Linked DNA regions of Homo sapiens: all the other regions are linked to region 1. The links are contacts of gene promoters, found by promoter capture Hi-C in blood cells and fetal thymus (Javierre and others, 2016). All regions are on one chromosome and are shown on one strand. Each heading gives the region's core, a stretch centred on a gene start or on the middle of the fragment in contact. The rest is flanking DNA. Distances are from core to core; before and after follow the strand shown. Region 1 holds the start of GJB2 (gap junction protein beta 2). Region 2 overlaps CRYL1 (crystallin lambda 1). Region 3 overlaps IFT88 (intraflagellar transport 88). Region 4 overlaps CRYL1 (crystallin lambda 1). Region 5 overlaps LOC105370103 (a long non-coding RNA gene). Region 6 holds the start of IFT88 (intraflagellar transport 88).

The links. The method cuts DNA at HindIII sites, captures the fragments that hold promoters and counts their contacts. A CHiCAGO score of 5 or more calls a contact.
Region 2: a fragment that was not itself captured here is called in contact with the fragment with the promoter of GJB2 in region 1 in 5 of 17 cell types (M2 macrophages, M0 macrophages, M1 macrophages and 2 more); the score reaches 11.0 in M2 macrophages.
Region 3: a contact is called between a fragment that was not itself captured here and the fragment with the promoter of GJB2 in region 1, in 1 of 17 cell types (M1 macrophages). The highest score is 5.6, in M1 macrophages.
Region 4: a fragment that was not itself captured here is called in contact with the fragment with the promoter of GJB2 in region 1 in 10 of 17 cell types (M0 macrophages, M2 macrophages, M1 macrophages and 7 more); the score reaches 14.2 in M0 macrophages.
Region 5: a fragment that was not itself captured here is called in contact with the fragment with the promoter of GJB2 in region 1 in 1 of 17 cell types (M0 macrophages); the score reaches 5.2 in M0 macrophages.
Region 6: a fragment that was not itself captured here is called in contact with the fragment with the promoter of GJB2 in region 1 in 3 of 17 cell types (M0 macrophages, fetal thymus and naive CD8 T cells); the score reaches 7.5 in M0 macrophages.

The regions. Positions count from the first base shown.
Region 1 is chr13:20,191,010-20,195,841 of GRCh38, reverse strand. GJB2 (gap junction protein beta 2) reads left to right here and starts at 2,904. Exons shown (of 2, transcript NM_004004.6): 1 at 2,904-3,059. The HindIII fragment of the contact is 5,188 bases long and covers 1-3,446 here.
Region 2 is chr13:20,452,626-20,456,800 of GRCh38, reverse strand. The region is part of intron 3 of CRYL1 (crystallin lambda 1); the gene reads left to right. Among named protein-coding and RNA genes, the nearest start is that of MIR4499, 21 kb to the right of the region's middle. The HindIII fragment of the contact is 7,348 bases long and covers 1-4,175 here.
Region 3 is chr13:20,667,852-20,672,253 of GRCh38, reverse strand. It overlaps IFT88 (intraflagellar transport 88), which reads right to left. Exons shown (of 26, transcript NM_006531.5): 24 at 1,215-1,281. Among named protein-coding and RNA genes, the nearest start is that of IL17D, 34 kb to the left of the region's middle. The HindIII fragment of the contact is 6,033 bases long and covers 1-4,402 here.
Region 4 is chr13:20,474,228-20,478,681 of GRCh38, reverse strand. The region is part of intron 3 of CRYL1 (crystallin lambda 1); the gene reads left to right. Among named protein-coding and RNA genes, the nearest start is that of MIR4499, 43 kb to the right of the region's middle. RefSeq lists enhancers at 2,257-2,306, 2,377-2,576. The HindIII fragment of the contact is 6,724 bases long and covers 1-4,454 here.
Region 5 is chr13:20,548,923-20,553,067 of GRCh38, reverse strand. It overlaps LOC105370103 (a long non-coding RNA gene), which reads left to right. Exons shown (of 6, transcript XR_941725.3): 6 at 819-1,434. Among named protein-coding and RNA genes, the nearest start is that of IFT88, 16 kb to the left of the region's middle. The HindIII fragment of the contact is 9,139 bases long and covers 1-4,145 here.
Region 6 is chr13:20,564,336-20,568,931 of GRCh38, reverse strand. It overlaps IFT88 (intraflagellar transport 88), which reads right to left and starts at 1,775. Exons shown (of 26, transcript NM_006531.5): 1 at 1,676-1,775. It overlaps LOC105370103 (a long non-coding RNA gene), which reads left to right and starts at 1,903. Exons shown (of 6, transcript XR_941725.3): 1 at 1,903-2,256; 2 at 3,382-3,431. RefSeq lists silencers at 1,382-1,570, 1,666-2,075. The HindIII fragment of the contact is 1,452 bases long and covers 812-2,263 here.

The DNA.
Region 1 (4,832 bases), core at 1,655-4,154:
GCATTTTCACCTTATAACCTTACAAGTGCATCACTTTAAACATCTGAGTAAAAGTTCAGCTCGATGACAATCACCTGGGATTTACCTGCATGGTACTAAGCATATATGTAAAAATATTACTGATGGGTATCTCTGGCACTCTGAAGTGACAAAGTGTAGCCTTCACAGATCTTTGTCAGTTAATCATCAATAGTTACCTGAAAAGTGCCCACTTGCCATCATTCAAGATCAACCAGGCAGACACCACAGTGAGTTTTCCATCAAAAAACCTTCTCTATCTGGTCAGTCTCTGCACGTCAATGAGACAAAGGTGTATGCTGCACGCAGCAGTACTATCCTAAGCTCCCTGTGTCCTCACCATGGGGCTGGGTGGCTGGGGTGGAGGAACACAGGATTGGGCTTCAGCTTCTCTAGGGACTGGTACATTAAGAGATGAAGACATAAAAGGTGAGAAAAACATGGTTTATTTCCAATGTTTCCATTTCTGTTAAAAGTAATGCTTTCAACAGAAAAAAAATGCAGCAATATAAGTGTGTAATTTACAAAATAATTTCAGGATTTCTTTAATCATTAATTTGTGGTGTCATCTGTTAACTGGATTTACGTCTAAGCTCATTTGTAAATAACTTCAAATATCCAAGCCTTCCCTCACCCTTTTCCCACCTCACCTCTCCTCCTTCTCCTCCCCTACACTGGAGGACACTATGTACATGCATATAATGTCCTGCCCTAGAGGAGTCCTGAGCCTACTTGGGAAGAAAACACCAACTCACAGGAAAACAGCAGAAATCACACAAAACAGAATAAAAGCAAGCGCTGATCTGTAAGTGAAGACTTAAGTGCTATAGGACTTCCAGCTACAAATCCTGAAAACACGGAGTGGCTGTGATAATACGACTAGCCAACATCACACAGTAATTTTGCACATAAGGAGAACTAAATCAAAGAAAACAAGGAAAAGAAAGTTGAGCCTATAATCGTGATACAGGCACTAAAATCTCAGGTGACATTTTTCAATGGGGGAAAGTCAGTCAACTTCCGATCTCCAAACCATCTTTACTAGCGAGCTTCCCACAATGGTTCTAGAACCTTCCTTCATTCCAACCCAACCAGGATTCCAACAGACTCATAAACACCACAGCCTTTGAGAAATTAAAGGGAGAACCCACCAACCGGCGCCCCACTCCCCACCCCAAGTCACCTCTGGCTCAACCAAGATGCGCTCAGGCCAAGAAAGCTGCCCCACCCCACAGGCTTTGCCTGTCATTTTTAACAAGCCGACTCAGCACATCTCTCAGATGGGCCATGCAAGGCTTTTCGCAGCTCCTGGGGCTTTGCCTCTTCATGAGCAGACACTCCCTCTTAGACTAAGACCTGGAGCTGGAAAGTAGGTGGTAACCGCGGTACAAAACTCACGCTCGTCCCTGCAGAAACTGCCTAGGTCGGCCCATGGCCACGGGGCGCCAATTTTTCAAGGAAAAGTCAATGCTAATAATGGTGGCAATCACGGGAAATCCATTCTGAGGCCAGATCTGACTTGTCAGGATTAATCATCATTTCCACTTAACTTCGAACTGACCTGGGTAAAAACGTGAGCGCGAGGGGACCAGGCTGCACCTCTGACCTGGCTCCCCTCTGCAAAAATCGCGAAGTGGGTGCCCGAGGTGGGGCGGGGGTTGGGGGAGACCTCCCCGGGAGTCCCCACCCAGCCTGCTCTGCACATCTTAGTCCCTCATCCGCTTGCGCTGTGCAAATCTGTCTTCTGTCATTTGTATCGCAAGACATCAAAATCCCCAACCAAATGCAAATACTGAGACCTCATAATCTGAGACAAAGTTTCACGGTATCCAGAAAGCCCCCAGCAGGTGTGCAGTGCAGAGCCAGCCCCCCAGCGGTCTTCCGCAGAATCCTATCAGTTTCCCCCTTTCGTGCTGTGTGCATCGAGCAGGAAGGGGCTTGGCAGGTTTTACCTGCCCTCTTTCCTTTCTGAAAAGTCTGGGCCTCCTCACCCCGAAAGGAGTCACCTCCTTGCAGTTCCCCAGTTGCGAAAAGAGGAGGAAGTTGGCTGGGCCGGGGGCCGCGGGGGGCACCCTCCGCAGATGGCGGGACCCCCCTGCCGGCCATGGCAAAAACGAGGCTTGTCTCTCCCACCGCCCCCAACCTTAGTCCTTGGCACATTGTTGAAAGTAATTGAATAAAATCGGAAATTCGAGAAGGCGTTCGTTCGGATTGGTGAGATTTTGAGGGGAGAAAGAAGCGGGGACTTCGCCGGCACCAGCGGCGCCCCCTCCTCGGCCACCGTTAACCCCCATTCCAGAGGGCACTGCCCCGCCACCCAGCCTAGGTCCCCCTGCGAGAGCCTCGCGGGCCCGCGCAGCCTCCGCGACTCGAACAGATCTTCAGTCCTTGGAGGAATGCCTGTTTCTCTAACAATAAAAAATTAAAGAAGCGCTCATAAATGCCAAGTCCTCTCGCACTATGCGGAGTACAGAGGACAACGACCACAGCCATCCCTGAACCCCGCCCACGGCACAGCGCCGGAGCCGGGGTCTGGGGCGCCGCTTCCTGGGGGGTCCCGACTCTCAGCCGCCCCCGCTTCACCCGGGCCGCCAAGGGGCTGGGGGAGGCGGCGCTCGGGGTAACCGGGGGAGACTCAGGGCGCTGGGGGCACTTGGGGAACTCATGGGGGCTCAAAGGAACTAGGAGATCGGGACCTCGAAGGGGACTTGGGGGGTTCGGGGCTTTCGGGGGCGGTCGGGGGTTCGCGGACCCGGGAAGCTCTGAGGACCCAGAGGCCGGGCGCGCTCCGCCCGCGGCGCCGCCCCCTCCGTAACTTTCCCAGTCTCCGAGGGAAGAGGCGGGGTGTGGGGTGCGGTTAAAAGGCGCCACGGCGGGAGACAGGTGTTGCGGCCCCGCAGCGCCCGCGCGCTCCTCTCCCCGACTCGGAGCCCCTCGGCGGCGCCCGGCCCAGGACCCGCCTAGGAGCGCAGGAGCCCCAGCGCAGAGACCCCAACGCCGAGACCCCCGCCCCGGCCCCGCCGCGCTTCCTCCCGACGCAGGTGAGCCCGCCGGCCCCGGACTGCCCGGCCAGGAACCTGGCGCGGGGAGGGACCGCGAGACCCAGAGCGGTTGCCCGGCCGCGTGGGTCTCGGGGAACCGGGGGGCTGGACCAACACACGTCCTTGGGCCGGGGGGCGGGGGCCGCCTTCTGGAGCGGGCGTTTCTGCGGCCGAGCTCCGGAGCTGGAATGGGGCGGCCGGGGAAGTGGACGCGATGGCACCGCCCGGGGTGCGAGTGGGGCCGGGCGCGCGCGGGAGGGGAAAAAGGCGCGGGCGAGCCGCCAGCGCGAGGTTTGTGGTGTCGCCGATGTCCCTTCGGGGTACTCTAGCGCAGCCGCCTGGCTACTTGACCCACTGCCACCAAACGTTTTAAATTCACCGAAAGCTTAGCTTCGAAGCAAAGCTCCGTTTCGCCGGTGAAGCAGGAAGCCTTCGCTGCAGGAACTGACCTTTACCTCTTGGAGCGGCTTCTGCAGAAAAATCCCCGGGCAGAGATTTGGGCGGAGTTTGCCTAGAACTAACGCGGAGCCAGCCGATCCCGGCCTACCCCGGGGCCAAGATTTCAGTGGCTTCCCTTTTTCCTAAACACTTCACGAGGGTCTGTTTCCGGGCTGTGCTCCCCGCCTAGAAGGAAAATTTTTAGGACCCTTGTTCGCGAAGAGGTGGTGTGCGGCTGAGACCCGCGTCCTCAGGACGGTTCCATCAGTGCCTCGATCCTGCCCCACTGGAGGAGGAAGGCAGCCCGAACAGCGCTCACCTAACTAACAGCTGCTGAGAGCTGGGTTCCGTGGCCATGCACCTGGGACTGCCTTGAGAAGCGTGGTACGGCCGTGTCCCCATGTGACCTTAGAGTCCCTTTCGAAACTGCTGTGCACAGTCGGTCACAATTTCAGACACTGGTGAGAAGGGTGGAGGAACCCTCTGGGGACAGCCAGGCAAGGTCGACCACCCATCACCTAAGGGTGGAGAAATTTAAGGGGTGAAGAGTCCCTTTTGCCTTTTCTGGATCCTGGTGATTCACCTAGTGTCTTCCCTAAGGAACTGAACCAACTCCTCCGCTGGCCTCTGGCAGCCCTCCAGGCGGTGCAGGATGGCGTGGGCCCGGTAGGAAGCTGCATGTAACCGCCCAGGGTCGGGAGGCCAGGAGGGCAGCTCCTCCTCTGACTTGAATATTGAAAACAACTTCGTCCTGCTTCTGAGCCCCTCTTAACCCATGACCCCCTAGCCCATTGGGGAGTAAATCTTAATTTACTCCTCTTCCTGAAAAAGGATCTTTAAAACAGGTAGCTTCAACTCAAGCTTTATAAAATAACAATATAGGGTTTCTCGGAACTGTATTTTTCTCAGCTGATGGTAACTGGACAGGTCTGTAGAAGGGTGTATGACCTGGGTTTGGCAGGTGGAAGAGGGCAAAGGATAAACCCCTCCTCCTGCAGCCCCATATTCTTGGCCAGGTGTATTGTTGTAAACCAGGAGAGAGTTTACTTCGGGGAGTATCCTGTTTTCCACTCAGTGAGGGCCAATGAAGAATGTCTAATTCCATAAGATGCTTTTGTTAAAATCGGAATGTTGCTGTCCTCGGTGGTTCTGCTGTTGGGACGGGACTGGCCTGAGCTGTGGGTGCTGTAGCAGGACAACCAGCTCACCTAAGGGCCTCCCAGTCTGGATTATCAATGGGTCAGTGCTGAACCTGGGCTAAAATATTGTTTTTTCCAATGATGTTGTCTTTCCCAAGCTCAGTGAAGCTAAATGTTTCACAGGCCTATGTCAATC
Region 2 (4,175 bases), core at 1,597-4,096, 260 kb before region 1:
TGGGTCACCCAGGAAGGTGCAGAAAGGCCATGAAGAGTGGGGGGTGGGCAGGTCGTGTAACAGGAGCATAGCTGGCTAGGAAGAGAAGGAAGAGCTGGGGTTGCTAAGAAGGGCATTCTGGGGTGTGTGTGTGTGTGTGTGTGTTTTAAGAATCGTGGTCTTTGTGTGTGTGTGTGTGTGTGTGTGTGTGTGTGTTTTAAGAATCGTGGTCTTGCCCAGGCCTGAGTACAGATCATAGCTCACTGCAGCCTGGAACTCCTGGGCTCAAGCAATCCTCCTGCCTCGCCTCTCTTCTTTTCTTTTCTTTTTTTTTTTTTTTTTGTTTTGAGACGGAGTCTCACTCTGTCACCCAGGATGGAGTGCAGTGGTGGAATCTTGGCTCACTGCAGCCTCCACCTCCCAGGTTCAAGTGAGATTCTGGTGCCTCAGCCTCTTGAGTAGCTGGGATTACAGGCTTGTGCCACAACCCCAGCTAATTTTTGTATTTCTAGTAGAGACAGGGTTTTGTCATGTTGCCCAGGCTTGTCTCAAACTCCTGACTTCAGGTGATACGCCCGCCTCGGCCTCTCAAAGTTCTGGGATTACAGGTGTGAGCCACTGCATCCGGTCATTGTATTATTTCTTAAAATTTTTTGCCTAACCCAAGGCCTCACAGATTTTCTATTTTAGAACATTTATAGTTTAAAATTGTACATGTATGGCTATGATCCACCTGAATTAATTTCATGGAAAATATAAGGTATATACTAAGTTACATTTCTTTGCATGTGAAAACCCAGTTGTCCAGCACCATTTGTTGAACCCTATCTTTTCCCCATTGACTTATCTTTGTATCTTTCTAAGAAATCAGCTGCTTAGATTTGTATGGATCTATCGCTGGGCTCTCTTTATATAATATTGATCCATGTGTCAGTGTAACAGTATGTGCCCATATTACTTTCTCTTAATTACTATAGCTTTATATTAAGCCTTGAAATTAGATACTATGTCATCCAACTACTTTTGCAAAATGGTTTTGGCTATTCTGACTCCTTTGCCTTCCATATCTTAGAATCAGTTTGTTGATATCTACAAAATAAACTTCTGGGATTTCTATTGGGGTTTCAGTGAATCAGTACATCAAGTTCAGGAGAACTGATGTGTTAACAGTATTGAGTCTTCCAATTCATGATTATGGTATAGCTTGAGTTTTCCAATTCATGATTATGGTATAGCTTGAGTTTTCCAATTCATGATTATGGTATAGCTTGAGTTTTCCAATTCATGATTATGATGTAGCTTGAGTTTTCTAATTCATGATTATGGTGTAGCTTGAGTTTTCCAATTCATGATTATGGTATAGCTTGAGTTTTCCAATTCATGATTATGATGTAGCTTGAGTTTTCCAATTCATGATTATGGTATAACTTGAGTTTTCCAATTCATGATTATGGTGTAGCTTGAGTTTTCCAATTCATGATTATGATGTAGCTTGAGTTTTCCAATTCATGATTATGGTGTAGCTCTCCACTTTATGTAGGCCTCCTTTGACTTATTTCATCAGCATTTCATGGTTTCCTGCATATTTAAGGCATTTTTTTAGATTTATGCCTAAGTAATTCTTGTGTATGTGTGCTATTGTGAATGGTATTTAACATTTTTTTTGATTTTCCATTATTAATTGCTACTGTGTAGAAATACAGTTTTTTTATATTGACCTGTATCCTGCAATCTTGCTGAGCTCACTAGTCCTTGGACTTCTTCATAGATTCTTTGGGATTTTCTATGTAGGCATTTATGTCTTATGTGAATAGAGACAGTTTCATTTTCAATCTATATGCTTTTTATATCTTTCTCTTGCCTTATTGCACTGGCTAGGACATCAATATGATGTGGAATAAAATTCTATTCCGGAATAGAATCTGTCCAGCCTGGGCGACAGAGTGAGACAGCTTGCCTTATTCCCAATGTTAAGGAGGAAAGCCTTGAATTTTTCACCATTAAGTGTGATGTTAGCATAGGAATAATAGCTACCTTTCATCATGTTAAAGGGATTCCCATCTATTCCTAGATTGCTGAGAGTTTTAAAAAATATCATGAATGGGTCGGGTGCGGTGGCTCACGCCTGTAATCCCAGCACTTTGGGAGGCCGAGGCGGGTGGATCATGAGGTCAGGAGATGGAGGCCATCCTGGCGAACACGGTGAAACCCCGTCTCTACTAAAAATACGAAAAAAATTAGCCGGGTGTGGTGGCAGGCGCGTGTAGTCCCAGCTACTCAGGAGGCTGAGGCAGAAGAATGGCGTGAACTTCAGAGGCGGAGCTTGCAGTGAGCCGAGATCGCACCACTGCACTCCAGCCTGGGCGACAAGAGCAAGACTCCATCTCAAAAAAAAAAAAAAACAAACACGAATGGGGGTTGAATTTTGTGAACTGATTTTTTTTTTTACATCTATTGGGATGATCACATAATTGTTCTTTTTAAATCTGTTTATATCATGAATGACATTGATTGATTTTAAAAAGTTGAACCAGTCTTGCATTCCTGGGATAAACTCCAGTTGGTCATAACGCACTATCCTTTTTTGTTGAGATTTTTTTTGCATATGTGTTTGGAATAGATTTTTTTTCCCCATGTAATGTCTTTGTCTAATATTTTGATATTACGGTGATTCTGCCTTCATAGAATGAGTTGGGAAATGTTTCTTCTTTATTTTCTGAAAGAGATTGTAAAGATTGGCAGTAGTTCTTTAAATGTTTGGCTGAATGTGGCAAACCCTGGGCCTGGAGTTTTCTGTGTTGATAGATTTTGAACTACAAATTTAATTACTTTCCTATAAATAGACTAATGAGGTTTTCTATTATTTCTTAAGTGAGTTTTGGCAGTTTGTGTCTTTCAAGTAATCAGTCCATTTGTTCTAAGTTGTAGGATTTCTTGGCATAAATAATTATTCATAATATTGCTTTATTATTCTTTTAATGACTATAGGACTGGCAGTGATGTCCCCTCTTTCGTTCTTCATATTGGCAATTTGTGTCTTCTCTCTTTTTATTGGTCAGTCTGCCTTGAAGTTTGTCAGTGTTACTGTTTTTTCCCTAAGAAACCAGATTTGATTTCATTGATTTGTTTCTGTTGTTTTTCTGTTTTCAATTTCATTGATTTCTGCTTTTACTTTTATTGTTTTCTTCTTCCTTTCTTTGTATTTAATTTGCTTTTTTTCAGTTTCTGAAGATAGAGGGTTGGATTAACGATTTGAGATATTCTTCTTTATTAATGTAAATATATAATGCTATACATTTTCCTCTCAGCATTGCTTTAGTTGAATCCAATGATTTAATATATTGTGTTTTCATTTTCAAAATATTCAAATATATTAGAATATTTCAAAATATTCAAATATATTAGAATATTTCAAAATATTCAAAATATTTCAAAATATTCTAATTTCCCATGAGAATTTCACCTTGACTGTAGATTATTTGGAAGTGTCTTGGTTAATTTCCACATATTTGGGGATTTCCTAGATATTCTTTTCTCATAGACTTCCACTTCAATTCAATTATGGCCAGAGAACATACTTTGTTTGATTTCTATTCTTTTAAGTTTTGTTTCATGGCCAGACTATAATCTATCTTGGTAAATATTACATGTGAACTTGGAAAAGTCAGGCATTCTACTCTTGGGTGGAGAGGTCTCTGAATGTCAAGTAGATCAAGTTGGTTGATAATGTTATTCAGCTCTGCTATAATCTTATTGATTTTTAAATCTTGTTCTGAGAAAGAAAGTTATTGAGGTCTCCAGCAGTAATCGTGGATTTGTTTATTTCTCCTTTCAATTCTGTTTTTACATTATGAAATTAGAAAAAACTAATTTTAAAATTCATCTAAATTTAAACATTTTAGAAATTGTATTTAATACCCAAAATATGTTAAATCCAATATAACACTTTTTTAGAGCAGCTTTAGTTCCACAGGAAAATTAAGAAGAAGGGACAGAGATTTCCCATAAAGCCTCTGCCCCTACGCATGTATAGCCTCCCCCATTATCAGCAACTCCCACCAGAATGGCACATTTATTACAGTTGATGAACCTACATTGACACATATTAATCACCCAAAGTCCATAGTTTATATTAGAGTTCACTTTTGGTATTATGCATCCTATAGGTTTTGACAAATGTATATTGACATGTATCC
Region 3 (4,402 bases), core at 194-2,693, 480 kb before region 1:
CCCGATGCCACTGATGGCTGTAACTGCCTACTAAGTTATAAATTGAATTTGACTGCAATTGGGACGAAGACTCCTTGAATTTCAAAGCACAGCTCTGAATTCAAGGAGTCTTTGTCCCAACTGCAGTTTCTATCCCTAGGAAAGTTTGAAAACTCATGTACATTTCTCTACCATGGCAGCATCCACAGCACCATTAGAAGCTGTGTGTCTTTCCAACTAGATTCTAACTTCTTTGAGCATGGGGACCACGTCTTATTTGTTCCCATGTCCTTGGCTCTTAGCACAGTGTTTGGCACACAGTATGCATCCAATAAACACTGTGAATGGATGAAAGGCCTGCCTAACTAAGAGCTACATTTGTCTTTGTCCTGACTCCTACATCACAAACAGATATGACAGAATGCAGCTGGATAGTTACATGGAGCTAGGTCATATATGCATGAGAGTGCTGAGTATGGATAGGAGAGAATGTAGGTATATTTATAGACCCCAATTCGACATTTATTTTTAAAATTAGCTTCTTTAAAATCACCAAATTTGTACTAAGTTTAACTTACACTGCCTGCCTGAAGTAGAGAAAGAAGGTAGATTGTTGATGGGAAGAAGGGGTGGAAAACTCAATAAAATGTCTTATTATGTAATGATGTCACAAGGAGTAAAAGAATTTTAGAGATGCAAAGAACTTCAGAAATCACCAAAAGCCTATAGCATTTATGTGGTTGGTCCAAAGACATATATACATCGTCACGATCAAGACTGGGACTCACACTATGTCTCCTAATTCCTAGCTTGTCACTAATTCTACACTAAAAGTCAGACTAAAGATTTAGGGCTGTCAGCATTCCATAGGACCATCCTCCTTCTCGTGGCACTTCCTTCAAATGGAAATTTTAAAAATGTAACACAGCAAAACCTCATAAGTACGCCCATCTATGATAATCTGTCCAACCTGAGAGATTAATAAATGAAAAACTTGTTTATTAATCAACTAGCAAAAACAAGCATGGTTATTTAAGAAAATCTGTTAGCATTTACAAATACTCATTTACATATCAGACTGACTGCTTACCAAATTAATTAATGTGAAGTTTCACTGTGTATAGAACAAACCGACAGACACATAAGAACACTTTAGATTATTGCAAGATGTTTCCAGAAGCCCACATACTAGAAATGTGGAAACCAAGTTTTTCAGGGAAAGAGAAAATACTTACCACCGCTAGCACTTCCTTCTCTTTTGCCACGGGAGCCCCCACTGCCATCTCTGCCTGACTTTATGCGCTAGAGCAAAGAGAAGACAAGTTTAAAAGAATAAGTGCTATTCCTTCAAAGTTGAATATAGATAAAGGTGGATTTTAAAATTAACATTACTACATTACCCTTAGGACTAACCCATCATACCTGAGAGTTGATTCTATAGAAAAAAAAAAAAAGCCTGAGTTGTTTTGTAAGTGGAGGGTTCAAGCCTTCCCCTCTAAGGCTCTTGAGAAAACTCGTATAGCACTTTAATTCAAAAGTGCAGCGTAACCTTGGCTTACACAAACAACTCAAAACTAAACAGTATTTTCTTGATGTGAACATTCAGGGCTTAAACATGATCTTTAGTTTAAGGGAGGGATGGGTGAGGAGGGGATAAGAATCTACAAAAGGGCCATTTCTTGCCATTAGTCCTCATATACAATGGTTGGACCTGAACTATTTGAGGGTAAAAAAAAAAAAAAAAAAAAAAAGGTAAGCTGAGTTTTGAAATTCAATTTATAAAATAAAAGTATGATTAAAACCTCACAAAAGACCTAAGATCTGTCCAACAGTCTACTTTCTTAGATACAGACTCGCCTTCAAAGCCTAAGAAGTATCTCCACACTGTGGCATTGTTAGGTTTCTTTCTACATTTTATGGTTCTGTTTTGCCTAAGTATTAGAATTTTTGTATTAACATTGAATCTGCCTCAAGTCACACTATCAAATTTTCATATGTATAATGGTTCATTTACACAGCTACAGGATGATTAGTGAACAGAGACAGATGGCTTTTTATGTTTATAATTGAATTAAACTTCTTAACATGGGTGGATATTTTATTTAGATCTTTAATAATATAAACATAAGACATAAACATAATTTCATATTTAATTCAAAAGACAAATTATTTAACTCCTTAACCCTGACAACTTCCCAAATATTTATAAATTGTCAGGTCATGGATAAAGTTATTGTCTGTGGTTTGCTAGGAAGAAAGAAATTCTTTTCAATAATTAACTCATTTCTGTAAGATGAAATACTCTCTTAAAACTCAGGACTTCCAAATGTTTCATAAACATATCCAATTTTTTTTCCATTAAAAGGAAAAGCACTTCCCTTGAAATATCAACTTTCTCCTTGCCTTCATAGATGAAAGAAAATCTTAAAAAGATGTAGCAAAGTAAGAATTTAAACATCCATAATCTGACTTTATTTCAAAACTTGATTTTCATCCAACCACAGATGGATCATCTCCAGCATACCAAAAAGACCTCTAAATGCTGAAAATAGGCCCGGTGTGGTGGCTCACGCCTGTAATCCTAGCACTTTGGGAGGCCGAGGCGGGTGGATTACCTGAGGTCAGGAGTTCAAGACCAGCCTGGTCAACATGGCAAAACCCCGTCTCTACTAAAAATATAAAAATTAGCCGGGTGTGGTGGCAGGCGCCTGTAATCTCAGCTACTCTGGAGGCTGAGGCAGAAGAATCGCTTGAACCTGGGAGGTGGGGGTTGCAGTGAGCCGAGATCACACCATTGTATGCCAGCCTGGGCGACAGAGAGAGGGACTCCGTCTCAAAAAAAAAAAAAAATGCTGAAAATAAATTCATCAAGACAAATGTCCACATAGCTTGACAGTTTTTAAAACCACATGTGAAAACTTGTATCCTGTTTAAGTGACTAGAGGTTCAGAACAGGATATGCGAAGGTAAGTAAGCACTTCCATAATCACTACACTCTTTATTGCCTGACACCTGTTCCCTGCACTCATCTAGAATTTTCCAGTCCTCTGGCTCTCATCACTCTTCTCTTTTTAAACTCTTTAAATTCCTACTTTCTGTCCAGCCTAGAATCAAGGCCTACCACGTGCCATGACGCCACATTGGAACTATGGTCCTTGCCTCCTTCTTGTCTTTCTGCTTCACTCATCAAGAGAAACCTAAGCCTCGGTTGGTTCAGTGCCTTCCCTTTTTCCTCTCCTACTCCCAGGACACTGTGCTGGGGAAACAGCTCCATCAGTACAAAAACCAGGCAAGCCTCAGGGCTCCCCACTGCTCACTTAGATCCTCCCGTGTGCCCCATGCAGGCCATCTCACTTCTCGTAGACACCACTTTTTGTCCTCATCACTTTTGGAACTGACTGTCCTGCCTGCTTAGAGAATAAAAGGAAAACAGCATCTCCTTGGATATGCCAGCTGGCATGGACCCTGCATGGATGGGTCCGCTAATCCCTGTCTGCCTGCCCTCCCTCATCTTTTCAGCTATTTCCTCCTCCCTCATCTCCTCAGGAGACCCCCTGTGTGTCCCCTGGTCGGGACTGGCTCCATGTGCTCTCATTATGCTCAGGGTCCGACTCTACCGGTTTGTCTTTCTCCTTCATCATCCTCCTGTGCACAGAGAATGTGGTGTTTTTTTCCAACTGAATGCCTATTTGCAGTTGAGAATCAGTGAACTCCACCATAAGGAGTCTTGTGTACTAACCATTGTAATAGCTGTACCATTGTAATAGCTGTAGCAAGGATTTCTTGTGGAAGTTACAGAGAAGGCAACTTCAAAAGTAAAACCAAAACATTTATCAAAACCTTAGTTTGATAAAGTTCTAAGTTCAAAGAACTCTCTAAGAATGTGCCTATTATGTAAGAAAAAAAAAAAGAAATCTCAACTGTCAAGACTCAGTTAACTGCACATCTCTCATACCATTCACACAACAGAGCTCTGCTCAGTAGTGTTTTCAGGCATGATCTAAGTGCTTCCTTCGGAGATGCAAAGTAAACACCCAAGAGACAGAGCTGCTGCAGACAGCAATCCCACCAGGCAACAGGACAGACTCTGTGATGCCCCACCGGGTATTCCAGGGCTGGCCCAGCAGCTGACCTTGCCCTTTAAGAGTGTGATGGAGGTAAAGTGGCCTCAGTGCAGTGCAAAGGAACTGAAGGAAGCCAGGAGGGGTGTGTCACAAACGCCACATATACAGAGCTGCTGCTAAGTCAGGCAGACGGAAAGTTAAGAGTGTCCATCATATTGACTGCTATGTAAGTGACTAATCTTAGTGAGGGTAGTTTTAGCTGTGTGAATGGAAGCAGTCAAGGTTAGACTGATTTGAAGAGCACCTGGGAAGTGAGAAAATAAAGATCAAGTATAGATAAAGCACACTGTTCTTTGGCT
Region 4 (4,454 bases), core at 1,519-4,018, 280 kb before region 1:
AACATGGTGAAACACCGTCTCTACCAAAAATACAAAAAATTAGTATGGCATGGTGGTGCATGCCTGTGATCCCAGCTGCTTGGGAGGCTGAGGTGGGAGGATCACTTGAGCCCAGGAGGTGGAGGTTGCAGTAAGCTGAGATTCTGCCACTGTACTCCAGCCTGGGTGATAGAGTAAGACCCTGTTTCAAAAACAAACAAACAAACCCAAATAAAAGAAAGACTGTACAGAGCTCTTTTGGAAGGATGATGTGGTATATTATAGTGCAAGTGAGAAAGTTGACTTCATGTTGATGATATAGTCAGTCTAGATGGAAACCAAATTGTCCCTTCTGCTTTAAAAGTTGTAGGTTGTTAAATTAATGCCCAAAGTCAAAATAAGCACATATCTAATAGAAACAATTTTATAAAGTCTGTTAAGTAGAAAATATAAATATAAGCTAAGAAAATACTTTTTGATCTTATCACTAGGTTAAAAACATGATAAGCCCATTCAAAAGTGGTCATGGCATACATATTTAATGCTTGGAAACTAGTAAACACTTTAGCAACTATAATATTTGCTTCTAGTCATTTTTTCTAGAGTATTTTACTTTCTGCTGTTAGCAATGGGAGATGGTTATTTATGAAGACTGTTGGATACTGTGTGCTACACAGAATACACCATGGAGCCTGCCCATATATATTTTTATATACATATATATATATATAACTACGTAATATATATATTATAAAATGATAATATATAATATACTGTAATATATACTATAATACATATGGTAGTATTTATAGTATAGTATTATATATTATCATATAATATATATTATACTATCTATATACTATAGTATATTATATTTTAGTATAATATATAATAGAATACATAATGGAATATTATATATTATCTATTATACAATTATATATTATCTAGTATACAAAATAATATATAATATAAAAATAATTTTTTAAAATTTATTATATATATTTTTAATATATTTTTAAAAATATTTTTATATATTTAATTTTAAACATTATTAAATGATAATATGTAATATTAAATACACCATGGAGCCTGCCTGTATATATACCTACTGTGTGTCAATCTCTTACTATGGGCCAGGTCCTGTGCCGCCCATTTTATGCAAAATGACCCACTTCAGTCCTCAGGACGCCCATGTAAAGTGGGTGCTAGTATTTATTCCATGCCATGCCCGCTCTCCAACCCCAATCATTGTTGCCTGCACACCTCAGGAATATTTTTGATTGTTTTACCTACTGCTATTTCTCCAACACCTAAAACAGTGCCTAGTTTATACAAATATTATATATATATATAAATTAATTACTTAAGATTTTTAGAGTCAAGGTCTTGCTCTGCTGCCCAGGTTGGAATGTAGCTGTGTGATCATAGCTCACTGACGTCTTGAACTCCTGGGCTCAAGCGATCCTCCCACCTCAGTCTCCCGAGTAGCTAGGACTACAGGCATGTGTCACCACACCCAGGTAATTATTTGTTGCTGTTTTTGAGACGGAGTCCCGCTCTGTCGCCCAGGCTGGAGCGCGGTGGCACGATCTTGGCTCACTGCAAGCTCTGCCTCCCGGGTTCATGCCATTCTCCTGCCTCAGCCTCCCGAGTAGCTGGGACTACAGGCGCCCGCCACCACGCCCGGCTAATTTTTTGTATTTTTCGTAGAGACGGGCTTTCACCATGTTAGCCAGGATGGTCTCGATCTCCTGACCTCGTGATCCACTCGCCTCGGCCTCCCAAAGTGCTGGGATTACAGGCGTGAGCCACCGCACCCGGCCTACACCCAGGTAATTTTTTAGTAGAGTCGAGGTCTCACTGTGTTGTCCAAGCTGGTCTTGAACTCCTGGGCCTAAACAATCCTCCAGCTTGGCCTCCCAAAGTGCTGGAATTGCAGGCATAAGCTACCTCGCCCTGCTGAGCCTGCGTTTTTAAGAGGTATGAGGCATAAGCGGGAATCTGGGAGCTTCATGTTAATGAAAAGTAAGGGACACCTGCAGAACTCGGTGCTGGCCCTGCTGCATGTTTTTCTTCCGGCTTGGGCTCCCTGCTGCTCACCTAGCGGTATCAGCACGCTGGGAGCATATCTGCTGACGCAGAGCTGCCTTGCTGTGTTTATTTTCATTTGAAAGTCAATATTCAAAGACTTGTTGCCCAGTAAGTCTGTTTGAACCACTGGGGGAAATCAAAAGGTTTCTTTCAAGGGGCGGCCTTTCACCTCTTATGGGTCTGGTTGACCTGTATCAGTCCCTGCTGCCCAGCAGAGACCTTCCTGCCTTTCGTTTTTCCTTTTTTTTTTTTTTTTTGAGATGGAGTTTTGCTCTGTCACCCAGGCTGTAGTGCAGTGGCGCGATCTTGGCTCACTGCAGCCTCTGCCTCCCGGGTTCCAGTGATTCTCTTGCCTCAGCCTCCTGGTAGCTGGGATTATAGGCACATGCCACCACTCCCAGCTAATTACCTTCCTGCCTTTCAGAGGCCCTGGCGTTCAGCAAGTATCGCATTGCACATTTGTGTGTGGGAAGACACCTGGGACACTGGAGTAGCTATTTCTGTTGTTTTGGCAGAGGAGGCTGCTACTGTGGTTTCCTCTGAGAGACCTACTGTGGTTTCCTTCCTTCCTGCCGCGTGCGCAGGACCTGCCCCGGAACTGCCGTGTGCGTGGGGCAGGTGACACAGGCCAGGATGAGGCTGTGGCCTTCCTGGAGCAAGTCCACTTTCCACTGACTGAGTACACTTACACAGCCTTCCTTTAACAGGCTCTCTGCCTGTGATTTGTGGATATGTCACCGGGACTCGTCCTGCGGCCTTTTGCTTCTTGCTTTGCTCGCGTTTGAAGGCACTTGCTATCTTGCCATCCTAGTTGGTAGGTGGTGGGTGGGAATCTTCCGCTGAAAGGGTCCCTGGTTTCTCTGAGCCTGGCCAGAGCCAGTTGCACAGCATCAGGTGATTCCCCTCTGTTCCCAAGGCCTCCTGAGGCTGATATGGCTCTTCTTTAGTCTTGGCCTATGACCCGCAGCTAATGGGAACTACTGTGCATCCATCCCTTACCATGGACCAGGTCCTGTGCCACACTCTTAACACAAAATGACCCACTTCAGTCCTCACGACACCCCCGTAAAGTGGGTGCTAGTATTTATTCCATGCCATACCCACTCTCCACCCCCAATCATTTTTGCCTGCACACCTCAGGAATATTTTTGATTGCTTTATCTACTGCTGTTTTTCCAGTACCTAAAACAGTGCCTGGCATGAGGCAGGAACTTAATAAACATTTGTTGATGACTGAATGGATTATCTGTTTAGAAATGACAGGATAAAGATCTCACCCCAGAGCCCAAAGGTGGAATCAGCCTTTGGGCCAGGTCGCTTGGACTCCAGCTGGAACCTGCATGCCTGCCACCCCTGCCAGGGAGGGAGAGACACGGGGTGTGATGGGGTCTGGGAATGCGGGGAGGCCCTCTTCCCGGTGCTCCTGAGGTGGCGGATGGCTCCCTCCTCCCTGTCCAGTTGTCTGCTCCTTCCCTGTCCCTGTAGCCTGGTGATGGCCATCCTGTCTGTGAGGCTGACTTCTGACTCGCCACTCTGGGCAATGGACATCGCGAGAGGACTTTGCTGCCCTGTGTTCCGGGTGTTGGAGGGTGAAGGAGGCTGCGCACGGGTCCAGATGCTGGGCTGTTAGAAGCTAGAGTGGATGGACCAAGAGTTCGGAGCTTGCTTGACCCTGAGGCAGGGGAGCCTTGTCCCTGAGACTTTGGGAGCTGAATCACAAGATCCAGAGTTGAGGAGGTCAAGATTGTTAAGGCCAAATGGTCTCCTTCCCTTTACTGAAAGTAAAGGAGGCTGGGGCAAGTCCAGGCAGGTGACGGTTTCTCCAGCAAACCTTTCTGGGCTGGTCATTGGCTGAGGGCCCTGGGAGGGGAGAGGAAGGTTGTGTGTGTCCCCCTGGACACAGCTGAGCCAGGAGCACTCTGAGTGTGAGCAGCTTGGGAGTCGCCGCTGCCTCTGAGGGGCCAGGAGCATTTTATTTCTTCCCAAGGTATCCTCTCATCTTTTCCTCAAGCTGTCCCTTGAAATACTTGGTTTGGCTGTGGAAAAATATTACTAATTACAATCACTTACATGAACAGGAACTCCATGCAGTAATTATGCATCTTGTCAAATAGGGGCTGACTGGCTCTTGGTAAGCCTTCTGAGGGCGACACAAAATTTTTCAAGTGTGTGTTGCTTTACCGGTTTGTTGCTTGTGGAATATGGCTCTCTCCTCCCAGCTCAGATATTAGAGGAAGCCTACATCCCATCCCTATGCAGCAACGGCTGGGGACGGGACAGGGCAGGTGGGCGTGAGAGCTGCCTGCTGCCGGCGCTGGTCCCGGACCGGAGGTTTCCTCCGAGATACCTAGTGAGCCCTTTAAAGGCCACTATGATGGCTGAAA
Region 5 (4,145 bases), core at 1,568-4,067, 360 kb before region 1:
GCTCTATACAGGGTCTAACAGTAACAAGTTCACTCATTCCTTCATCCATCCATTCATTTGTAGGAGTTTCACAAATGGATAAGCCAGAAGGAAGGCATTCCTGGCAGATACGAGAGCATATGCAAGCTGCGCACCTAACACAGTAGCCACTAGCCGTGGCTGTTTAAAATTAAATGGAAGGCCAGGTGTGGTGGCTTATGCCTGTAATTCCAGCATTTTGAGTAGCTGAGGCAGGAGGATCACTTGAGGCCGGGAGTTGGAGACCAGCCTGAACAACATAGTGAGATCTGTCTCTATAAAAAAATTAATGTAAATTAAATTAAAAATAATTCTGATTAATGTTATACTTATGTGTGCTTTTCAAAATTAAATCAAATTAAAACTTCAGGCCGAGAATGGTGGCTCACACCTGTAATCCCAGCACTTTGGGAGGCCAAGGCAGGTGGATCACCTGAGGTCAGGAGTTTGAGATCAGCCTGGCCAACAGAGTGAAACCTCATCTCTATCAAAAATATAAAAATTAGCCAGGCGTGGTGGTGGATGCCTGTAATCCCAGCTACTCAGGAGGCTGAGGCAGGAGAATCGCTTTAACCCAGGAGGCGTAGGCTGCAGTGAGCCAAGATCACACCACTGCACTCCAGCCTGGGCAACAGAGTGAGACTCTGTCTAAATAATAATAATAATAATAATAATAATAATAATAATAATAATAATTCATTTCTTCAGTCACACTAGCCACATCCAGGTGCTCAACTGCCACACAGGAATAGTGGCTACTGTGTTGGAGAATGTGACATAGAACATTTCCTTTATTGCAGACAGTTCTGTTGGACAGTGCTGCAAGGATGGAGAGACTATTAAGATCACCTGACTACACCATTTAAAAAATTTTTTGAATGAACTATCTTTGTTTGTAAGCCCCAAAACATGGTCTGAAGACTCATTAGTGACCTGATCATACAGCTGACCTCTGAACAACATGAGTTTGAACTGCGTGCGGGTCACTTATAGGCAAGTGTTCAACTGCACGGGGCAGGAGCAGTTGGTGCCCAATCTGCTAATTGTTCAAAGGTAGAGTGTAGTTTTTAAAGACAAGTGAGGTAATTTCTTTTAAATCTCTAGGCTACTACAATACAGAATGCTGGGAAATGAATTAATGTTATGCTTACGTGTGCTTTTCAAAATTCCCCTTGTGACTAATGGGATGTCACTCTGCAAAAACATTGTTAGTTTCCCATTGATTCCACTGGTTTGAGTGTGTTTAATGCCGAGGAAAGTGAGAGTTCTTTCGGAAGATGGTAGGTTTTTGTCTTTTTGAGGTGGTTCATTTACTTTGAGAATCATCATTTTGTATTTTTAAAACCAAGTCTTATATGCAAAATTATTGAACTGTGAGAAGAAAAGGCAAATAAAATCTTTCTTTTTCATTGCAAATGTGTCTTTATCCAGTAATGACTTTGAAACGGGCATCTAAATACTTTCTCTGAAACCCCAGTGAAGAAAGTCAAGGGGTCATCCAGGGTGAAGATCTTAATTGGCCTGTTTCCTTCAGCAAGTCTACATGCTTGTTGATTTAGCTTCTCAGCTTCTAATTTTTGTAGATTTCTCAAATTCAGGATCTCCATCTCCCTTCCTCTTACTCATCCTCCTACCACCCCTAGAATCCTGAATCTAGACAAAGATAAAATCCATAAGTGACATTTTCTGTAAGTGAAGTTGGAAGTAATTTGGGAAAAAGCTACAGTAATTATAAGTGGTTATGAAACCCTAATTTTCTGACAAGAACCTACTATCTCTCTGGACATAGTTATACTCAAGCACATCAGTTTCCCTAGACAATATCATACACATCATAGCCTCTGTGACATATGGTTGTATAGGTTGTGGGTTGTGCACTGCACAAGGACACATTTAAGGAGGTGTTGCTCACATTATATACATCACAGATTTGGTACTTATAACAAAAATAAAAACAATTTTCCAGAAGATGGCAGTAAAGTTGTTGGAGGCTGAAAGAATGAGGGTCGTGGTCAACTCAGTGCACCACTGGCGGCTATATGAGCAAACAGCAAACTGTTCTCGTGAAAGCAGGATGTTGGTAAACTGACAAACTGTGCCTGCCGCCCAGTAGGAATGCTGAGGGCAGTCACAACCCAGGCACGAGTGTTTCTTGTGATTAGGCACAACTGAATCCTGTTAGCAATAATGTGAACCTGTGATCAATTAAGCAGCTGACCAATCTACCTCCTCCTCCCTGCTCTTTATACCCAATAAATATGAAGGGCTGAAGAAGCTCGAGGCTGCCTTTGCTCACTAGAAGCAGGGAGCTCTCTTCTTCTTCCCCTGGACCCTTCCTTTAAAACAGTTACTTTTGTCTTAAGTTTTCATTTCCACGTTCATCCCTTCTTTCAGTCTCATAAAGACGGTCTCAAGTAGTAACAGTAGTAACTGTCTCAAGTAGTAACAGTAGTAACTGTCTCAAGTAGTAACAGTAGTAACTGTCTCAAGTAGTAACAGTAGTAACTGTTGTAGCGATGGTCTCAAGTAGTAACTGTGGCAGTCTCCCACACAAAGTATCTTGTTCTTAAAAAAAATCAAGGGGCCAGGCCAGGTGGCTCACACCTGTAATCCCAGCACTTTGGGAGGCTGAGGTGGGCAGATCACGAGGTCAAGAGATCGAGACCATCCTGGCCAACCAACATGGTGAAACCCCATCTCTACTAAAAATAGAAAAATTAGCCGGGTGTGGTGACGCACGCCTGTAGTCCTAGCTACTTGGGAGGCTGAGGCAGGAGAATCGCTTGAACCCAGGAGGCAGAGGTTGCAGTGAGTTGAGATCGTACCACTGCACTCCAGCCTGGTGACAGAGCAAGACTCTGTCTCAAAAAAAAAAACCAAAAAACAATACATTATGACAATTTTCTGTAGAGGAGAGTACAATGTCTTGATGAAGAAGTACCTTTCTCTGATTTACACAAAGGTATGAAATGGACTACCATTGGCTCTAGGGCTGTATAAAATCAAATCCAGACTATTAGTGAAAGTGAACCAATGCAGTTTAATAAGTAAAGAAAAAAAAAGAATGATCAATAATATATATTGAGCCAGGCACAGTGGCTCACGCCTGTAATCCCAGCACTTTGGGAGGCCAAGGTGGGCTGATTTCTTTGAGCTGAGTTTGAGACCAGCCTGGGCAACATGGCAAAACCCTGCCTCTACTAAAAATACAAAAATTGGTGGCGGGGGGCAGGGTGTGCGGTGTGGTGGTGCATGCCTGTGGTCCCAGCTTCTCCAGGGATGAGGCTGGAGAATCGCTTGAACCCGAGAGGTAGAGGCTGCAATGAGCCAAGATCGTGCCACTGCACTCCAGCCTGGGTGACAGAGTAAGACCCTGTCTTAAAATAATAAGTATTGAAATTCTGGCTTCCAAAATACTTGTTCTTTGTTCATATATTATATTACATGTGCAATATAGTGTCTTCGTTCATTCTGGCCGCTATAACAGAATGCTGTAGACTGAGCGGAGCATGGTGGTATGTATGCATCTGTTGTCCTAGATACTTGGGAAGCTGAGGTAGGAGGACACTTGAGTCCAGGAGTTTCAGTCCAGCTTGAGTAACATAGCAAGACCCCTCTCTAAAAAACAAAAATGCTATAGACTGGGTGGCTTATAATAACAGACATTTATTTCTCACAGTTCTGGAGGCTGAGGGGTCCAAGATCAAGGCATTGGCAGTTTCAGTGTCTGGACAGGGCCCACTTCCAGGTTCATAGACAGCCATCTTCTCATGGTCTCCTCACATACTGAAAGGGATGAGGGGTTTCTCGGGCCACTCTCATAAGGGCACTAATCCTGGGCATGAGGGCTCTGCCCCATGACCTAACACAACCCAGAGGCCTTGCTTTCTGATAACATCACGGTGGGGGTAGGGATTCCAATGTATGAATTTGGGGAGACATAAACATTCAGTCTAATATGTGTAGTATAAATAAGATAGTGTAATACATGCTTCCCTAGGCCTCATGGAACCACAGGTACAAATGTGATTAATATATATGGGGAGGAATTCTTCAGTTTTAGGAACATCTTTCTGTCACCCCAAAAGTCTCCCACACACATACACACTGTCTTCCATCTTTGGATC
Region 6 (4,596 bases), core at 288-2,787, 370 kb before region 1:
TGGCTAACACGGTGAAACCCCGTCTCTACTAAAAATACAAAAAATTAGCTGGGCATGGTGGCGGGCGCCTGTAGTCCCAGCTACTCGGGAGGCTGAGGCAGGAGAATGGCATGAACCCGGGAGGCGGAGCTTGCAGTAAACCGAGATTGCCGCCACTGCACTCCAGCCTGGGCAACAGAGCGTGCGACTCCGTCTCAAAAAGAAAAAAAAAGGTATTAAAAGTCACTGGTAAAAGATATATAAAATATTTTTAATTAAAAGCTTTAGCTCAGATAATACTAAACCAGTGGTTCTTAAACCCAAGTGATGCTGAGGCTACTGGTCTGGGGACCACTTTGAGAACCACTATTCTGAACCATAATTTCTGATTATGAACCCTATTTAAGTCAGCTTAGTTGACACATAAGTTATAGAAGGAAGCAACTTTTAGAATGAGAAATCCTTTCTGCTAGGTTGTAACCAGATTTTTAAAAGGTTTGACTTGAGACTTTAGTTGAATAGACATCTTGTGGAACATACAAATATTAAAAGATGTGGAAAGTGAGGCCAGGAAAGTTGAAGGGAATCAAGCATGGCTAATAGCTATGGGTGGCAGAACAACTGTTGTTATACAACCCAGGGTTTCTGGATTCTCCAGGCAATTTCCAAAGCAGCTTATACATGTAACAAACTTTTCCATGTTGAAATAATCTGGGGATGATGCCACCTATGTTTAATATAAATCAAATGCTGGCAAAACCTTTTTTTTTTTTAAGTGAAAGGTATGTTTTTTAATACTCTTCTACTGACTATGGACAGTCTACTTCAAGCTTTTCCAACCCCGGCCCGCACGTGGCACAGGACGGCTTTGAATGTGGCCCAACACAAATTCGTAAACTTTCTGGAAGCATTATGAGATTCTTTTTTGCGATTTTTTTTAAAGCTCATCGGCTACCTTAGTGTTTGTGAATTTCATGTGTGGCCCAAGACAATTCTTCTTCCGATGTGGCCCAGGGAAGCCAAAGATTGGACACCCTTGGTCTACTTCCAAGAAGCCTACTGCAGTTTCTCGAAAAAAAAAAAACAAACAAAAAAAACTCACAACCAGAAAATCGGACTAGTAAAAGTGTAATTTTAGGCTTAGAAAGAATCTTGGGACAACAGTACTTCACGTTTTTGGAATGTTTCCATCTTTGTGAGGCTAAGTACCGCTTTCTGCATTGTTGTGTACTTTTATCTTCATTCCTGATTCAACTTTCATCAGGCAATTTGAAGTGCTTCACCTAACAAGAAAATTAAAGAGCGATGTGCACCATCTCTGCTGTGCGATTCCAGAGCTGGCGCAGTAATCTAACTGGGTTTTAAGTTTCCCCGTCAGGCGTGACTGGGACTTGGGACATCGCCAAGCGGTCAGCGACGCCCGTCCCAGTTCAGAGGAGCAAGAAAAGCCTGTGAGCTGGGGACACCGATGTGAGAAACAACGCCCGCGTTTCTGAGTAGACAACTCGGGAGCCTGAGGAAGAAAAGCAGGGGCAGGCCGAGTCCATCTGGGGCCCCGCCTCAGACCGCCCCGGGGCCGACAGGGGCGGGCAGGAGACGGGCGAAGAGGCCCTCGGCGGGATGCGCCACACAGGACGCCGCAGGGGCACGGCTGCCAGGGGCCCTGAGGCACTAGGCCCCAGCGCCCTTCTCCTACCTCACGCTGAGGGAAGCGGGCGACAGTTATTCGGGCCCAGGGACGACGCAGCGGTTGGCCAAAGCGCGACGCCGAGCCGTTGCCAAGCGCGGAATCCAAGGAAGCCGCTCCCACAGTCCTCCGCGCGGGGGCGGGCGGGGCCGGAAGCGCGGGGGCGGGAGAGAGCGCGGCGGGAAGGGGGTGGTGCGGGAGGCCTGGGGAAGTGGGTGGGGGCGGAGAACGGCGGGTCAGAGAGAAGGCAGCCCGGTCCCCCTCAGTGGAAGGGAGTGGCGGTGGGCGGAGGGTGTTGAGGGGACGGTGCCAGCGGCTTGCGGGAAGCCGGGCGATGCGGGTAGAACGGTGGAGGAGAGGGCAGGGAGGCCGGGGCCTCCCGTGGAACGGAACCGGGGGGTTGGGAGGCTGGGGGCGGCCTGTGTGAAGGGGGCGGGGAGGGAAAGGCTCGCGGCCAGTAGATGCAGGAGGGAGGAGGGCCTAGAGGGGCTCCGGGCTGGCGGCCTCTGTGAGGAAGGGGAAGGATATGGAACCAAGATCCTTTAAATCCTGATGAACTCATCCGTAAAGCAGATGCCCAAAGGATGATAGTAAGCTTACTGTGACATAACTCCCGGAGCCGCAGCACGAGCCTTGTGAACCTTGGAAGCCCGTTTTCCGCGCAGTCACTAACTCGCTTAGTCACCCTGTGTAAAAGTTATTCTGGGATGACACCTGCCTGGGAAGTCTCACCTTTCCCCCCACCTCCTCCTGTCTGCGTATTGTTCTGTAGCACCCCGTGCGCACCTTGATTGTAGCGCTTAAGGTGTCCGTTTTATTTACTAGACAGGGATTGAACCATTGTGTCCCAACCACCTAGAACCTGGGTCATAGTGTAAAGCTTAATCAATGTAATATAAATGGGGGAATTAAATTCATAATTGTTTAATGTTTAAGTTTTGTCTTAAATTTTAAAAGTAAATGTTGGGGATGGAGGGGAGGGACAGAGGGAGTCTAAAGACACCAGTAATTAATGAGTTTTTATAAAATAAGTAGTGTTGGCCGGGCGCAGTGGCTCATGCCTATAATCCCAGCACTTTGGGAGGCTGAGGCTGGCGGATCACCTGAGGTGAGGAGTTGGAGACCAGCCTGGCCAACGTGGTGAAACCCTGTCTCTACTAAAAATACAAAAATTAGCCCGGCGAGGTGGCAGGCGCCTGTAATAAATCCCAGCTACTCAGGAGGCTAAGGCAGGAGAATCTCTTGAACCCAGGAGGTAGAGGTTGCAGTGAGCCAAGATGGTGGTATTGCACTCCAGCCTGGGTGACAAGAGCGAAACTCCATCCAAAAAAAGAAAAAACATAGTGTTGGGGGACAATTCTCCATGGGTCACCTGCACTTTCCCGTGTTTTGTGAGCAGAGACACTGACTGCCTTTGTTCTGGAGTACTATGATAGCTGGTATTTTTTAAGATGTGATTAACAGTTAAATTAGACTTGAGTAAAGCAGTTGGTCCTCCACAAGGTGGGTTGGCCTCATCCCGTCAAGGGAAGGTCATAAGAGAAAAGACTAAGGTCCTCTGAGGAAGAAGGAATCCTGCCCCCAGACTGCCTTCAGCTCTTTCCTGGGTCTCTAACTTGACCTACAAATTTTAGGCTTGCCAGCATTATAAATAAAGTTTTGGTGCCGCAAAAGAAATAGCACTCAACTATAAAATTTTCTTTTTTCCTTCTCAGCAAGGCAATTTACTTCTATAGAAGGGTGCGCCCTCACAGATGGAGCAATGGTGAGCACACACCTGGACAAGGGAGGCGAAGGGGTTTTTATTCCTGACGCTTGTGGCACCTGCTGCTGTGTCCTTCCCCTGTTGGCTAAGGTTAGACGGCACAGGCTAAACTAATTCTGATTGACTAATTTAAAGAGAGTGACCGGGTAAGTGGTTTGGTGGGAAAAATAGTTATGGCAGAGCAGGAAATCGGAATGAGTCAGGGTGGAGAATGAGTCAGGGCAGAGCAGGTAATCAGAATGAGTCAGGGTGGAGCAGGTAGTTGAAAAAGATTGCTTTACGAGGAAGTTAAGCTTTTTTTGTTTTGTTTTGTTTTTTTTAATTGAGACAGAGTCTCGCTCTATAGCCTAGACTGGAGTGCAGTGGCGGCATCTCGGCTCACTGCAAGCTCTGCCTCCTGGGTTTGCTCCATTCTCCTGCCTAAGCCTCCCGAGTAGCTGGGACTACAGGTGCCCGCCACCACACCCGGCTTATTTTTTGTATTTTTAGTAGAGATGGATTTCACCGTGTTAGGATGGCCTCCATCTCCTGACTTCATGATCTTCCCGCCTCGGCCTCCTGGGATTACAGGTGTGAGCCACCGCATCTGGCCAGAAGTTAAGTTTAAAAGTAGAAGACAAAGAATTGAACATACTGACATTGATTCTTCGAAGAGAAATTTAGAACTCATATCTAACACCAGCCTCCAATTGATTGAGCCAATTCCTTCAAATAAATCTCTCTCTGCAATATGCATCCTATTGGATCTGTTTCTGTAGGGAATTCTGATTAATATACCCTTTCAAGGAACAGCTTTGGAAGATTAAGATAATTGTCTGCTTCTGGAACAAAAGACAGGTTTGTTGCTGTTCAGTTTAATAAAGAGAGTGTCACCTTCTGGGGCAAAGGCTGAGCATGTTGGCTTGCAGTTCACTGTTCAAGACTGGGCTTTCCTAAACTTGGTGTACCTGGGCGGTAAAACCAATCACATGTGCAGCATCCACCTGGACTGTCCCCATGGGACTTGGAAGGGAAAGGGGAACCGAAGGGAATATGAAGCCCAGGCTACTGGCTGTGCTGTGAAAAATAAAGCCCTTTCTCTCTGACTCAGGTGTTTTCTGCCATCATTTGTGGAGCTGTTAGATGAGCTTGTTAGCTTGCAAGTAGGGTAAAATCTAACATGATT